2 separate regions of the Homo sapiens genome follow, and region 2 is linked to region 1. Evidence: promoter capture Hi-C in human tissues and cell types (Jung and others, 2019). All regions are on one chromosome and are shown on one strand. Each heading gives the region's core, a stretch centred on a gene start or on the middle of the fragment in contact. The rest is flanking DNA. Distances are from core to core; before and after follow the strand shown.

Region 1 (6,687 bases), core at 265-2,764:
ATATCCCAGTGAACAATATTTTCAAAGTAGAAGCGATAAATACAGTCTACTTCTTATACTAATGATTATAGTCTGTGCCCCATTTTTCTGAAAGTGTTCTTAAATAGGCCCTGGACAGTTATTTAGAAGCCAAATTATTATAAAGTTGTTTAATAGTCATGAAATGGAACCCAAGGATGTAGACACTATTTAAATGCCATTAAAAATGGCATGAAGCTTTTAGCCTGATGTGTCTACCTTCACTCTAGAGGACCCTGCAACTGAGAGACAGGCCAGGGCAGCCTTCTCCCTGGACTATGTCGGGTTAGGCCGGGATCTGCCAACTTCAGCTTCTGAGTTTCCCTTTTCTTGCCTTTGGTTCCTGCGGGCCTGCTCTCCTGGGTATAAGCATCGTCTATGGATAGGGTACGGCTCATATACATGTCTGCTGATGATCTTCAAATGAAGATGCCACCCAGAATCACATAAAATGTATTTATCACTTTGTAGTAGTTCTTTATCATCATGTATCTTTTTGGACAAAGGATTCAAAGTAAAAGGGGTGAAGTTTTAAAAATATTTACGTTTTACTATTAAGAGATTGATCTCCAGTCTCAGAAAAGTGGACAGTCTCACTGTCCTAGGGTTACCATCCACCTCTTTTGTGATAATCCACCAAAGAGGTTAAAATACAATTGATTAGGTTTCCTCTAATCACATTTCAGCCCCCATATCACCTCAATTGACGTCGGAGTGTTCTCACAGTTTTGCAGTTTCCTGATTTACGAGCACAGATGGTTAATTACATCCACCATGGGTTTGACAAGCAAGGTTACTAGAAGTAATCTTAAATGTCTTCATTCAAAGCTCTTGGGAATCCCTACAGCAACGAAAATAAGGAGGGGGAAGAGATTAATTAGGTTTCTAGAAGAAAGGTGGAGTTTGAGGTGGAACTTAAAAAAAGAGCATAATTTCACAGGAAAAAAAAAACGCTTCAGGGGCTGCAGAAACAGCTAAAGCACATTTGGAGGGCCTGATGATCCACGGAGCAGCCCCTGGGATGGAAGCGGTTGGTGCAACGTGAAGTAAGGTAAACCGAATCCATGCCGTGAAGACTTTTAAACGCCAAACTGAGGCGTCGGAACTTTGCTCCGCGGGCATCGAGGAGCCATCGAAGGTTCTCAGCAGGTGAGTGGCCTAACTGGATTGGTCACTGCAGTGATCCACCTTACAATTTCTCCGGCGCTCTCTGCCGACCTCAGCCGGCGATCAGGCCGGCTTCGCAGTAGGTGGCGGCTGAGCGCCCCGGCAACCGAAGCGCCAGGCCAGCCCAGGCCACGCCGCGCCGTGCGGGATGCTGACCGTACCCAGGCGGGAGCCGCCGCGCCGCCGCCTGGCGCTGCACCTGGGCCCGGCCCGGCCGCCAATTGGACGGCTCGGGGCGACCCCGCTGTATCGCGAGACGAGATTGGCAGCGGCGGGGCCTCAAGTGCCCCCGCGCTGGCTTTGTATGCGGAGCCGCCTGCCGGTCCTTTAACAATGGGCGGCGCGAGCGTCCAGGCGCTGGGCTCTAGCTGAGGCCGGCGCTTAGCGGCCCACTGTCCGCAGCATGAGCGGGGCCGGCGTCCGCCGCACGACGGCGGGGCTGGGGCTGTGAGGGCCGCGGTTCCGGGTAAGGGAGCCAGCGTGGGGCCGGGCGGCCCGGCAGGCCTGGGGTAGGCGTGGGGCAGCGGACCCTCCCGGGGTGAGGCGCAGAGCCTGGCTGGCCCGGCCTTTTGTTCCCCTTTCTGAGGCCGCGCGGAACGTGCGTTTCTCGGGGCTCCCGGGGAGGAGCAGGCTCCCGACGTCCATGCGGAGACCCGCGGCCAGGCAGACGCTCACCCCCGGGCTTTGCCATGGGAGCGTTTCCCCTCAGCGGGGCTATGAGCGTGTCACCTCTCCCCGCTCCTCAGGGAGGGCGGGAGAACTCCAGCCCCGGACGCAGGGAGCCCCAGCCGGGCCTCCCCCAGCTCTTCCCGAGCTCGCACCTGGCTCCGCGCTTTGGCAACTCAGGGCCCGAGTGGATCCCCTTTTGCCCGACACATAGTCGAGCAGTGAGTCTCAGAGTCCTTCGGCTCTTCCTGCGGGGGCAGACCCGGCTTCGCGTGTGGCGTTGGGGGAAACGACTCGGGTCGGGCTGGGTTGAGGAAGAGTCAAGTGAAGATGAGCAGCCACACCGGGTGGCCTGAGGTCACACCCCCCGGGGAGGGGGCGCAGAGGGTCGCGGGGGAGCCGGCAGTGACCGCGCCTGGGGTGTGTCTTACAGACTCGAGTTGCCGCGTCGGGCTGGGCGCGCCGCCGGGTCCCATGGAGCTGGAGGGGCAGTGGTGGCGAGGACAGCTGGCCGCCGATATTCACCAAGCGCTTCGCTACAAGGTAACTCCGAGGCCCGGCCTGCCTTCTCCTTCTGTGTGTCGCGCCAGTTGTTCTGAATCTCGGCTCTCTAGAAGGTCTAGTCAGGTTCTTTACTCACTATCTTCCGGGCCAGAAAAGGCGAGTTTGCTCATTTGCTCAAGGTTAATTAACTTCTTGGCTCCTTCTCTGGGATGTATCAAAAGAACCTGCAACCTGAATGAGTAGGGAGATGGTAGTTGGGCCAGGGAAGGTGGAAAGGGGCGTTCTGGCTTCCAGGTGGGTCATGAATTTGATCTTGTATTTTAAAAGATATATACACTGAATTTTTGTTGGGCAGAACAGCCCTCTTTGTTCGAGAGTTGCCGTTGCATGCAGCCAGTTTAAGTCGCTTTTGTACATAAATTCCTCAGCCTTTCCGCTAACTTGCCGTGAGACGTGGACAAGTGAAATTTCTGTTTCTTGATTTCCTCATCTGTAAAATGAGGAATAATGAGTGTGCCTTATGATTCTGGCGATTGTGAAACTTAAGTTAGTACCGTACATGTGCTTAGAAACTGCTCTTGGTATATAGTAAGCACTAAGTGATAACTTCTTATCACTTACCCCTCAGGATTTGGGCTGTTCAAAAGCCCTAAAGTGGAGGGAGTTGGCTGCCCCTTCCTGCTGATATCAAAGGCAGAAAGTAGACTTAATAGATATTGGAAAAAAATACTTTTCCAACACAAAGCAAAGTCTGTGTATTGTTGCTATTAAGTAACGGTTTTACTCTGCATGTGGCAAGGCAGATTAATGAGACATTTCTGCCTCTTCGATAACCAAAAGAGAGACCAGATCCAAAATGATCTCTAGCTTAACTCAGTTTCACCTTGGATAAAGAAAGCCATTTGTTAAATGTAGAAAATTGAGAAAGAAGCAAAACAGCTGACTTTCAATAAAAAGGATTCTGACTCTTGGGGTTGAGATCCTGGAATGATAATGAACTTTTATCTTGAGTTTCTGACCAGGTCAAGTAGATTGGAAAACCTAATTCTGACTTAAATTGTTACCCTTTTCTAGGCCTGAGATTTCTAAATGCTACTTAACTAATTCTGACATTCAGTCTCTTAGATTCACTAAAATACAGTTCAGCCCCCTAGGAGATGGTTTATACCACATAAAAATTCTAACTAATGGGATCTCTGGAGTGTTAGTTAGGAAAGAGTTGCAGTTTCTTGGAAAATTGTCCAGATACACTTTTGATCTTTTTTTTTTTTGGCAGATGTCATCTTTCAATGTGAAATGTTTTCTTTTTTAAAAAAATTAATATAGTTGCACATATTTTGAAAAGTGTTTTAAGTGTCAGCCTTTTTATCCCTCTGGTATGTAGTGAAATTAATTAGTTGATATTAAGAGTACTTTTTTTTTGAGTTGGAGTTTCACCTGACCTCAGGTGATCCACCTGCCTCGGCCTCCTAAAGTGCTGGGATTACAGGCATGAGCCACTGCGCCCAGCCAAGAGTATATTTTTTAATTGGCATGAAACTTAAAAGGTTTTTCTTGGTGATTTCCATACTTTTCAATCATTTTATGTGTAGATCATTTTAATTCGTGAGTGATTATCTGCATTTTGTCAATTGAGTTTGGACATGGGTTCTTTGTTTTTTTGTTTTTTCTCCTAGATTTAGATTTGTTGAAGGCTTTTGTGGATTAGTTTCTGGAGCATCCAAGGCATAAGACCCAACCTTATACTCACTCAAGTTGCTTATGAACTATCAGAGGACAAGGTAGCACAGGGTGTGAAGGAATGCCACTGAAAGTTTTATTGGGCCACCTATGGCCTACTGCCCTGGGTTGTCTTTATGTTTAAGCATTATGCAAACCATGGTTCTTACTGGCAACACTTTATACAAGAATTTACATTAATCTGTAAAACTTAAACTTGTGGAACTGGAGAGACCACTGTTTGTAATACACTGAAGGAAACTTAAAATGGACTTTTCTCCTAGAAAAGACGTGGTAATTCCAGGCTATTAATTGGTGATTCAGTCGGATAGTCATCTGTTTTTCTTCAACATGTTGATCATTTATGACATACATGATATCATGCCAGGTGTTAGAGCAATAACAGTGAACGAGACATGATCCTTGCCTTCATAGTCTAACCTTATCTATAATTTAGAGCATCCACATTTAGGTCTTCCTTTGGGCAGTTGCCATTGAGATACTGCAGAAGGTATTCTATGTTTAGGCCCTAGGTTTGTGGAGAAATATTTGGTGTGACTAGCATTGTGTTTACTAGGGAAGAGTGAAAATGACAATGAATGGAAATCATGCCAACTATCCACTCCCTCAAAAAACCCCTACAAAGCAGCTGTCACCTTACACCCTTTTGTCTCCTTTCTTCTCATTATTTTGCTGTGTATAGTTAGTGTCATAGGCTGTTTGGGAAAGTGTTTTTAGGAGCCTTAATGACAAATGGGAACAATTCTAGCTTTGTGAGAAACATTAAGAAAGTGAAGTCCATCAGTGTTTTCCAGGTGTTTCCAGGGAGTCTTTAAGACCATGTTCAGGCCACTTTTTGGGAAAACCTGCTCTGGTTTTGCCTTTTTTCCCCAACTCCCTAATCCCTGAGCTAAGTTAGATTTTCTTCCTAGGTGTTGCCATAATAACCTGTGGTGACTATATTGTGTGATAAGCTCTGTATTTGATTCACCTGCTAGAGATAGGCTTGAGACTGTTTTTCCAGCTTTTATGCCTGGGTTAGTATAGTGTCTGCTGCATGGGAGATGCTCAATAAATGTCACATGGTGGCAGCAAAGGTAAAGTTGCAACTCACTTACACCATTGTAAAGATCCAAAGAAAGAGTTAAGGAGAAAAGAAAAATCCTAGGAACTACATGAGAAATCGGCATCTTCCCTTTATGTGGAAAAAAAAAATTTTTTTGGCCAGGCATGGTGGCTCACACCTGTAATCTCAACACTTTGGGAGGCTGAAAGCAGGTGGATCACTTGAGTCCATGAGCTGGAGACCAGCCTGGGCAACATAGCGAGACCCTGTTGTACAGAAACTAACTGGGCGTGGCAGTGAGCGCTTGTAGTCCCAGCTACTCCAGAGGTTGAGGTGGTTGGATTGCTTGAGCCTGGGAGGTGGAGGGTGCAGTGAGCCAAGATGGCACCACTGTACTCCAGCCTGGGCTACAGGAAACCCTGTCTCAAAAAACAACAATTGATGTATTCTTTGGCTACACTACTAAATTACATTGACTATTTTATCCATTTATCTTAGGTAATATTAAGTTAGGTGAATATATAACTTCCCTTTTTTGTTTATCGTAAAATGTATCAACATAAAACTTTTTTTCCCCAACTTTTAAGTTCAGGGGTACGTGTGCAGGATGTGCAGGTTTGTTACATAGGTAAACGTTTGCCATGGTGGCTTACTGCACAGATCATCCCATCACCTAGGTATTAATCCCAGCATCCACTAGCTATTCTTCCTGATCCTCTTCCTCCTCCCACCCCCACCCTCCGACAGGCCCCAGTGTGTGTTGTTCCCCGCAACATGTGTCCATGTGTTCTCATCATTTAGCTCCCACTTATAAGTGAGAACATGTGGTATTTGGTTTTCTTTTCCTGCATTAGTTTGCTAAGGATAATGGCCTCCAGCTCCATCCATCTCTCTGCAAAGGACGTGATCTTGTTCCTTTTCATGGCTGCACAGTATTCCATGGTCTGTATGTACCACATTTTATCCAGTCTATCATTGATGGGCATTTAGGTTGATTCCATGTCTTTGCTCTTGTGAATAGTGCTTCAGTGAACATACACATGCATGTGTCTTTATAGTAGAATGATTTATATTCCTTTGGTTATATACCCAGTAATGAGATTGCTAGGTAAAAGGGTATTTCTGCCTCTAGGTCTTTGAGGAATCACCACACTGTCTTCCACAATGGTTGAACTAATTTACACTCCCACCAACAGTGTAAAAGCGTTCCTTTTTCTCCACAACCTTGCCAGCAGCTGTCATAACATAAAACTTACCATTCTAACCATTTTTAACTGTACAGTTCAGTGACATTAGGTACATTTGCATTGTTGTCACCACTATCTATCTTTAGAACTTTTTCATCTTCCCAAACTGAAACTCCATACCCATTGAACGATTACTCCCCAATTTCCCACCCTCTAGCTTCTGATAACCACTATTCTACTTTGTCCCTGTAAATAGGACTATTCTAGGTAACTCATTAAGTGGAATCATACAATAAATGTTCTTTCATGACTTTTTTCATTTAGCATACTGTCTCCAAGGTTCAACCATGTAGTATATTA
Region 2 (6,591 bases), core at 534-3,033, 160 kb after region 1:
TCTGCCACCCACCCCTGCTGCTGCGCTGTATTTTTCTTTATAGCACTTCAGCATTTACCTGATATGATATTATTTGTGCGTTTATTTTTACTCTCTGTCTCCTTCAGTAGAATATAAGTTTCATGAGGACAGGGTCTTTATTTGTTTCGTTCATCCTTGTATCTCCTGTGCCTAGAACAATGCCTGGCACACGGCATATGGTCACTAACAACTGAATGAATGACTTGGTTTGAAAAACGGTAAAAGGTATAATAAACCTTTTTAAATAATGAAAAATAAATTTCTGTAGCCAAATCATTTTCACTTTGTGTTGTCAGAATTTTTTTTAAAAACTAGTAAAAGTTTCATTTATTTAAGATGAATATTATTAAAAATTTAAAAAGCCAATTTATGTTTAGTAAAAAAAATGCATAAAAATTTTGCATGTGGACAATTACTGTTTATTTAAATGGATTTAAGCTTTATTATTTTGGAATATATCCCAAATTATCTATGTAAAGCAGAGTTTTTTTCTTCCTTTTTTTCCCACATTGAGTTGCAGGCAAATTAAGGTTTGGGCAGTTACGTTCTGTGAGCCTGACTTATCCGATTCATATATTTTTAGGGTGATGTTTGCCTTGGAAAAATTATCCAGATATTTGCCGTATCTTCTTTTTAAGGTACCTTTTGTAGACATATTTTGTGATCTTTAAAATATATTTTGACTTAATTTAAATCGGTATTATTTGTTTAGAACCAAACACTATAGCTGGTGCTTCCCATATGTTGTTTTACTTGATCTTATTATTTTGAAAACAGCTGTATTGTTTTTGTAAAAAAAAAAAAAGTTAAAAAAGGATGCATGATCAGTAAAATATTAAATCGCTACTAAAAAAAGTAAAAATTGCCTCAAATATATTTACTTTTCAAAACAACTCTGTGAAATAAACATTCTTGGCCCCATTTTACAGGTAAGGAAACAAGTGGGAGAAGATGCCAGGATAACGCAGCTGGAAGCGACAGTGCTGTGTTAGAACCCAGGCCTATCAGACTCTAGGATCCAGCCTCGACCACTCCCTGATACACTACATGGCTTCGTTGTACTTACTTGGCAGAGGTATGGGTTTTTGGTGGATTTGTCTGCAAGAAAGAATTTCAGATAATTAAAGGACAAAGCACAATATGAGTAAGTTTGACTTTTTGTTTACACTGATGATGCTGTGAACAGGCACATCACAAATAAATCAATACAAATGGCCAATAAAATGTATCTAAAGATAAAAGAGCCACCAAAACCTTAAAGATAAGTAAGACTCTTCCTTTTAGTTTTGAAAAAGGAGGAAATCTTGACTAAAGTATTGTATTTTAGTCAAGTTCAATAATTAACCCAATTAGTAGGTCTCTGCAACTCTACACAGTTATTTTAAAGTTGCTCAACACCTTTTAACACGTAACTGCAAAACAATGAAATGTTGGATTTTTACCTAGCACTGCAAGTCAGTGTCACTGTGCAGTGAAACAATGCACATGTTAATTCCTGCAGCAACAAGAGGAAACTGATCTTTAAAGGAAAGGATTCTTACTTCTGGGCAGGAGGAAACACTGGTGACTGCACAGCTTCTTGTCTGTGACTTGACCCTCGGTGGCGTTCAGCAGGTATAGGTTTTTCTGGATCAGGAAAATTATCATATTAGGATTAGAGTGAAATGTCTGTCCTCATCCCAAAACCCAGCAACATCAGCTGAGAAGAACCAAATTTGATCAGAAGTCTTCCCGGGAACATGTCTTAGTTACTGAGATGTCATGGATCTGTGCACTTGCCAGTCTGTTGATGTGGTTGTGCTATGAGGACCAGGACTCCCTCCCAGCAGTGTTACAGGTACATCCTACCACCTCTGCATTCATCCACTGGCAATGTACATAGAGACTGAACCCACGGGCCCTGAAACTTTAAGTGTGTGAGTATAGGTGGAAGCCAGAAGATGAGAACATTTTAGCCACCCTCTAAACAACTCACCCTCTACTTGCCATGTGGCCTCCACACAGGTGGAGACAACACCCTGGTGGGTCTTGATTAGTCATAAGACGTGGTATAAGCAGTGTGTTACTGATAAGAGGCACACTACTGAGTTCATAAATGATCTCTTTTTGCAAAATTAATTGGATCAAATTCAAGGTTATCCCTATAATAATGTAAATCTCACTTGCATTTCAGTGTTTTCCTGAGCAGAAGAGGAAAGGGTGGGAAATGAGCATAAACCTGAAGTGTAAGAAATTTATGTTGAAGCCCATAGTGAACTCTACTGCTGAACCATTAATAAATGTGATCACACATTATTTTAATACTTTACTCTCCCTCAAATTTGTCGTTGGGGGGTGGGGTGTGTTAAAATCTTGGTATGTTCATGTGTGAGTCTGCATGGAAGAAAGGCTGAGAACTACAGAAACCCCAAAGAAATAAAAGTAGTAAGAACTCAAAGATTCAAATAAATGGTAAGATAGACGTCAGGGTTTCTTACCATTCAGTGGTGCACTAAAGCTTGGAAACCTTGAACCTCTGAAGATTGTATTTTGAATTTGTGGCAAGCTACTTCAAACCTCTATGTTAGATGTTTTGCTCATGACATTAAAACTTGGTAATTTCAGAAGGAGAAACAATGAACACCTTAGGTCTTGCCAGCCTATAAGCTTTGACTACACCTGCTCTGCCTCCGCCATCCTGATTCCTTCCTAGGCTAGTAGAGGCCACTCACTCACTTTGCATTTGGATGGTAATTGCCTATGCTCTTGAAATAAATAACAAAGGAGGGGGCATGCCTGGCAGGCTCCTGTACTGGGAACCCTTTGAGAATGAGGACACCTAAGCAGCAGTGGACATGCCTTGGGCCCTGCTTCTTTCCTGGATTTTGGAGGCTCTTGTAGCCATGAAGTCTGCACAGGTTGTACTTACTTCCTACAGATGCTCAGAGCTCCTGAAGTCACTATCACTCCACAACCTGGACTCAGCAGGTCTGAGAGGCTGCAAGGAATGGAAGTACAGAAAAGACAAAAGCCTCAAAGGGAAGGCAGAAGAAAGCAATACAGCAGAAAAGGGGTGATGCCTCAGAAATAGCCTAGGGAAGCAAGATATGGGAGACAGGATGAAAAAACCTAATGGCGTCATTAAAGCAGAGAGGTGAGTTGTAGTGCATGCTCAGAAAAGATCCACTGTCCATCATCAGAGAAAGGAGAGTGCTTTATGTAGATATACGCACATCAACTCAGGGAAGAGGGAGAATACTCACTACATTTTTAACCCTGGGTATCTTCAAGTATGGAATTAAATGGGTACAGGGCATGAACTTCTATATAATGTTTTAAGTGCTGATATTATAGATGATTCTTCTATTTTTTTCCGGTAATTTCCAAACACAATTTTTTTTAACATGAGCAGTTTCTAAAAATATATATAAGATTTTTGAGTGATGATAAAGGAAGAAATTCTAAATTACTCAGGAGGCTGAGGCAGAAAGACAACTTGAGCCCAGGAATTTGAAGCTGCAGTGAGCTATAATTATGCACCACTGCACTCCAGTCTGGGCTACAAAGTGAGACCCTAACTCAAAAAAAAAAAAAAAAAGGAAGAAAAGCAATTGAAGATGTACTAAGAAGACAGACAATTGAACTTTGAAAACATTATCTTGAAAACTTAGCAAAAGAACTTGTTCAAATAAACAGATTTTTAAAGTTTTCATTACTTTAAGTAAGCTATTAGTTCTAAAACATGTGAATGGCTCTACGTTAGTTTTCACATTTATGTAAGGTCCTAGCACTATTGCCTGGCAAGTCATATCTGTCTGCCAAAAGGCAGGTTTTTGCATGCATTCTGTAGCCTACTCTAAACATGCTGAGGTTCTGAGCTAGTTTTGCTGTTCATTGCTCATTGCAAAAACTATTTTGTTTAGAAAATTGAGTTTCATGTTTACAATTGCCCCAAAAATAATGTAATAAATGTGTACATACAAATCCTTAATAAAATAACTTTTAGAGGACATGCTCATCCTTCAAAATAATAGATTTTACCTTCACAAACACTTGAAGCATTCTGTTGAGAGGCAACTGGAGTCTATGTAAAAGAAAAAAAGGCAAGGTTATTCAATATAGCAGAATGTGGAAATAAATGTCAGAGCAATATTATTAAAATAAATATTTTGGCAGCACTTTTCTTTGATGCATTGCTATTCTTTCAATCACAACAACAATTACAAACCCACAGTCCCTAGCCCAACCTTTGCATTAAGCAACAAACAGCCAGAAGTGTCCTATGAAGGAGCAATGTCACTGTGGTGGAGAAACCTCCCTGCCTTGTCAACAGGGTTGATGGAAATCATGACCCCCCCAGCAGCTGCCACATAGTAACCCATGTACAGCAGGCATCTGGCATCTGCTTTGGTCTCATGACCCCCCCCTTCTGTGTGTTTGCTAAATGATTGTAAATGTCAGGCTTCACAGTAGGGACTAGGTCCAGGTGGGCTCCCTTATGTAGTGTTGTGGCCCAGGTTCACCATGTTCTGGCCAGAATCTGAGTTTAGTGAGGCCTATGTGTGCCTGATACACAATGGTCTACCATTAGCTGTGGTGGGGAGTGGACACAGACGCTTCCTGTGGAGAGGGCAGGGAACCTGGCTGCCCCTCTGATCTGCTGCGCACACTCAGTGAAGCTGCTGGGATCAAGTGAGGATGAGCTCCTTCTATGCTCCAGGGAGGAGCATCCTCCCTGGCTACCTGAGGATTTGAAGCTTCTCTTGGACTGCTTGGGCAGCAACTTCAGTTGCTAAGATTGCTGTGTTCACCATAGCTGGAAGCATTTTCAACTTTAAATAAATGGATAAGAATAAACACTGCAGGAAATATGAAGCACTTTTAAATGCAAAATTAACTTACTGTCTTCAGTGGTGTCGTTGGTTTTTTCCTGGGGAATAAAAAGAGATGAGCTTTGTTAAAACACAACGAAGACAAAATGGAGCTATTTACCATTATTTTAGTCTCAAATTTAAGCTAGAATTATGAAAGCGATACAAGTGTGTAGAAGACTATCCTTGCAGGGTGGAGAGGGATGGAAGTGGGATTTAGTTATGATCCTCCTAGGCTCAGATGGAGTCTGCTGACAGATGGGGAAGGGGTCAACTGGGGATAAAGTAGGGCACCAGTCCGGCAGAACTGGACTCTTGCACCAGTTGCACTAATTACTTGGCGGGTGACCTTGGGCCTCTTTGTCTTGAGTGTGAGGTTAGATTCCTCACCTGTCAATTGAGGACCAGGATCAGTATTTTCAGTGTTTCTGTGGAGCCCCCTCTTCCCCAACAGCTCCCTGTGGGGGTTACTGTCCAGGACAGAGGGTAGAGGTAAGAGGGTGGTCCAGCAGGTGAGGTTGCAGCTGCACTTGCCCACTCCAGCTTCCTCCCTGTCTCTAGGGACTATTCTCCACTGTCTTCTGTGCAGGCTTTCTTTCAGAGAGATCCGAAACCAAAACAAGTTTGAAAACCACTGATGTGTGGTCCTGAAGGTACTTGCCTGCACTAACATTCTAGTTTGCAAAATGATTCAGGTGCTGGAGCTTCTGAAAGTCGGGGTGTCTTGTGGAACACTGTAAGTCAATGAACTCAAGATTCCAATAGAGACTGGAGTCTAATATTGGTAAGGTTGTATGCTCCTTTTCTGTGTGTTAAATTTCTTAATTTAAAAACCCTCACCATATCTCTCTCTCGCTTTGTTTTCGGCTGAGAGCTGAAGTGTGGGGGAAGAACACTAAGAATTCCTGAGCACCTGTAAGATGCCTGGCACTGGGTTAGGCTCCTCAGGTGCTATTTAAACCTTACAGTGACATTTTAAGGTGAGGAAACTGAGGCTCAGAGAGACGAAGTAGTTTGCCCAAAGTGATACAGCTGAACTAAGAGAGACGTATGCAGAGTTTTGGTTAATAAACCTTCAACATGGAGGCTTTCTTTGGTTTACACAGAGACAGAAATAAGATTAGAGCCATTCAGGCCAGCTTTAGACATATTTAAATTTGCTTTCCAAATAACCTGTTGAGCCAACATAATTTTACGGGGTGACGTTTGTAATATTAACACATTACAATCGTCACCTGACTGTTTACAAAGCCCTTCTAAATTCAATAAGAAAGAATGACTGTCACTTTCGAGAGGAACTTCAGTCGTATGGCTTTGAGGGAGTGCCCTGGTATGACCAGCACATAGTATATATCTACACACTTATTTACAGACCATAAAACTGAGCAGCAGTAAGTAAAGACAAAACCTGCTAGAGGCTCTGAAAATGATTCAGGTGCTGGAGCTTCTGAAAGTCAGGGTGTCTTGTGGAACACTGTAAGTTAGTGAACTCAAGACTTAACTAAAACTTCACAGGAGGAAATACTTCTAGATTTATTTATTTATTTATTTATTTATTCATTTATTTATTTATTTGAGATGGAGTCTTGCTCTGTTGCCCAGGCTGGAGTGCAGTGCTGTGATCTCAGCTCACTGCAACCTGCAGAGGTTCAAGTGATCCTCCTGCCTCAGCCTCCCAAGTAGCTGGGATTACAGGTGTGTGCCACCACGCCTGGCTAAT

Evidence for each region. Contacts are between HindIII fragments. The study calls those that stand out against the background at their distance.
Region 2: a fragment that was not itself captured here is called in contact with the fragment with the promoter of CCNJ in region 1 in 1 of the 25 tissues and cell types used here (lymphoblastoid cells).

What each region holds. Positions count from the first base shown.
Region 1 is chr10:96,042,069-96,048,755 of GRCh38, forward strand. It overlaps CCNJ (cyclin J), which reads left to right and starts at 1,515. Exons shown (of 6, transcript NM_001134375.2): 1 at 1,515-1,651; 2 at 2,285-2,394. The coding sequence starts at 2,326. All of the region lies in intron 2 of ENTPD1-AS1 (ENTPD1 antisense RNA 1), which reads right to left. RefSeq lists silencers at 904-1,098, 1,226-1,795. The HindIII fragment of the contact is 11,661 bases long and covers 1-6,687 here.
Region 2 is chr10:96,202,970-96,209,560 of GRCh38, forward strand. BLNK (B cell linker) reads right to left here. Exons shown (of 17, transcript NM_013314.4): 10 at 4,903-4,930; 11 at 4,042-4,084; 12 at 1,563-1,647; 13 at 1,088-1,119. It also overlaps a transcript of ZNF518A not described here. Among named protein-coding and RNA genes, the nearest start is that of BLNK, 65 kb to the right of the region's middle. The HindIII fragment of the contact is 3,857 bases long and covers 1-3,712 here.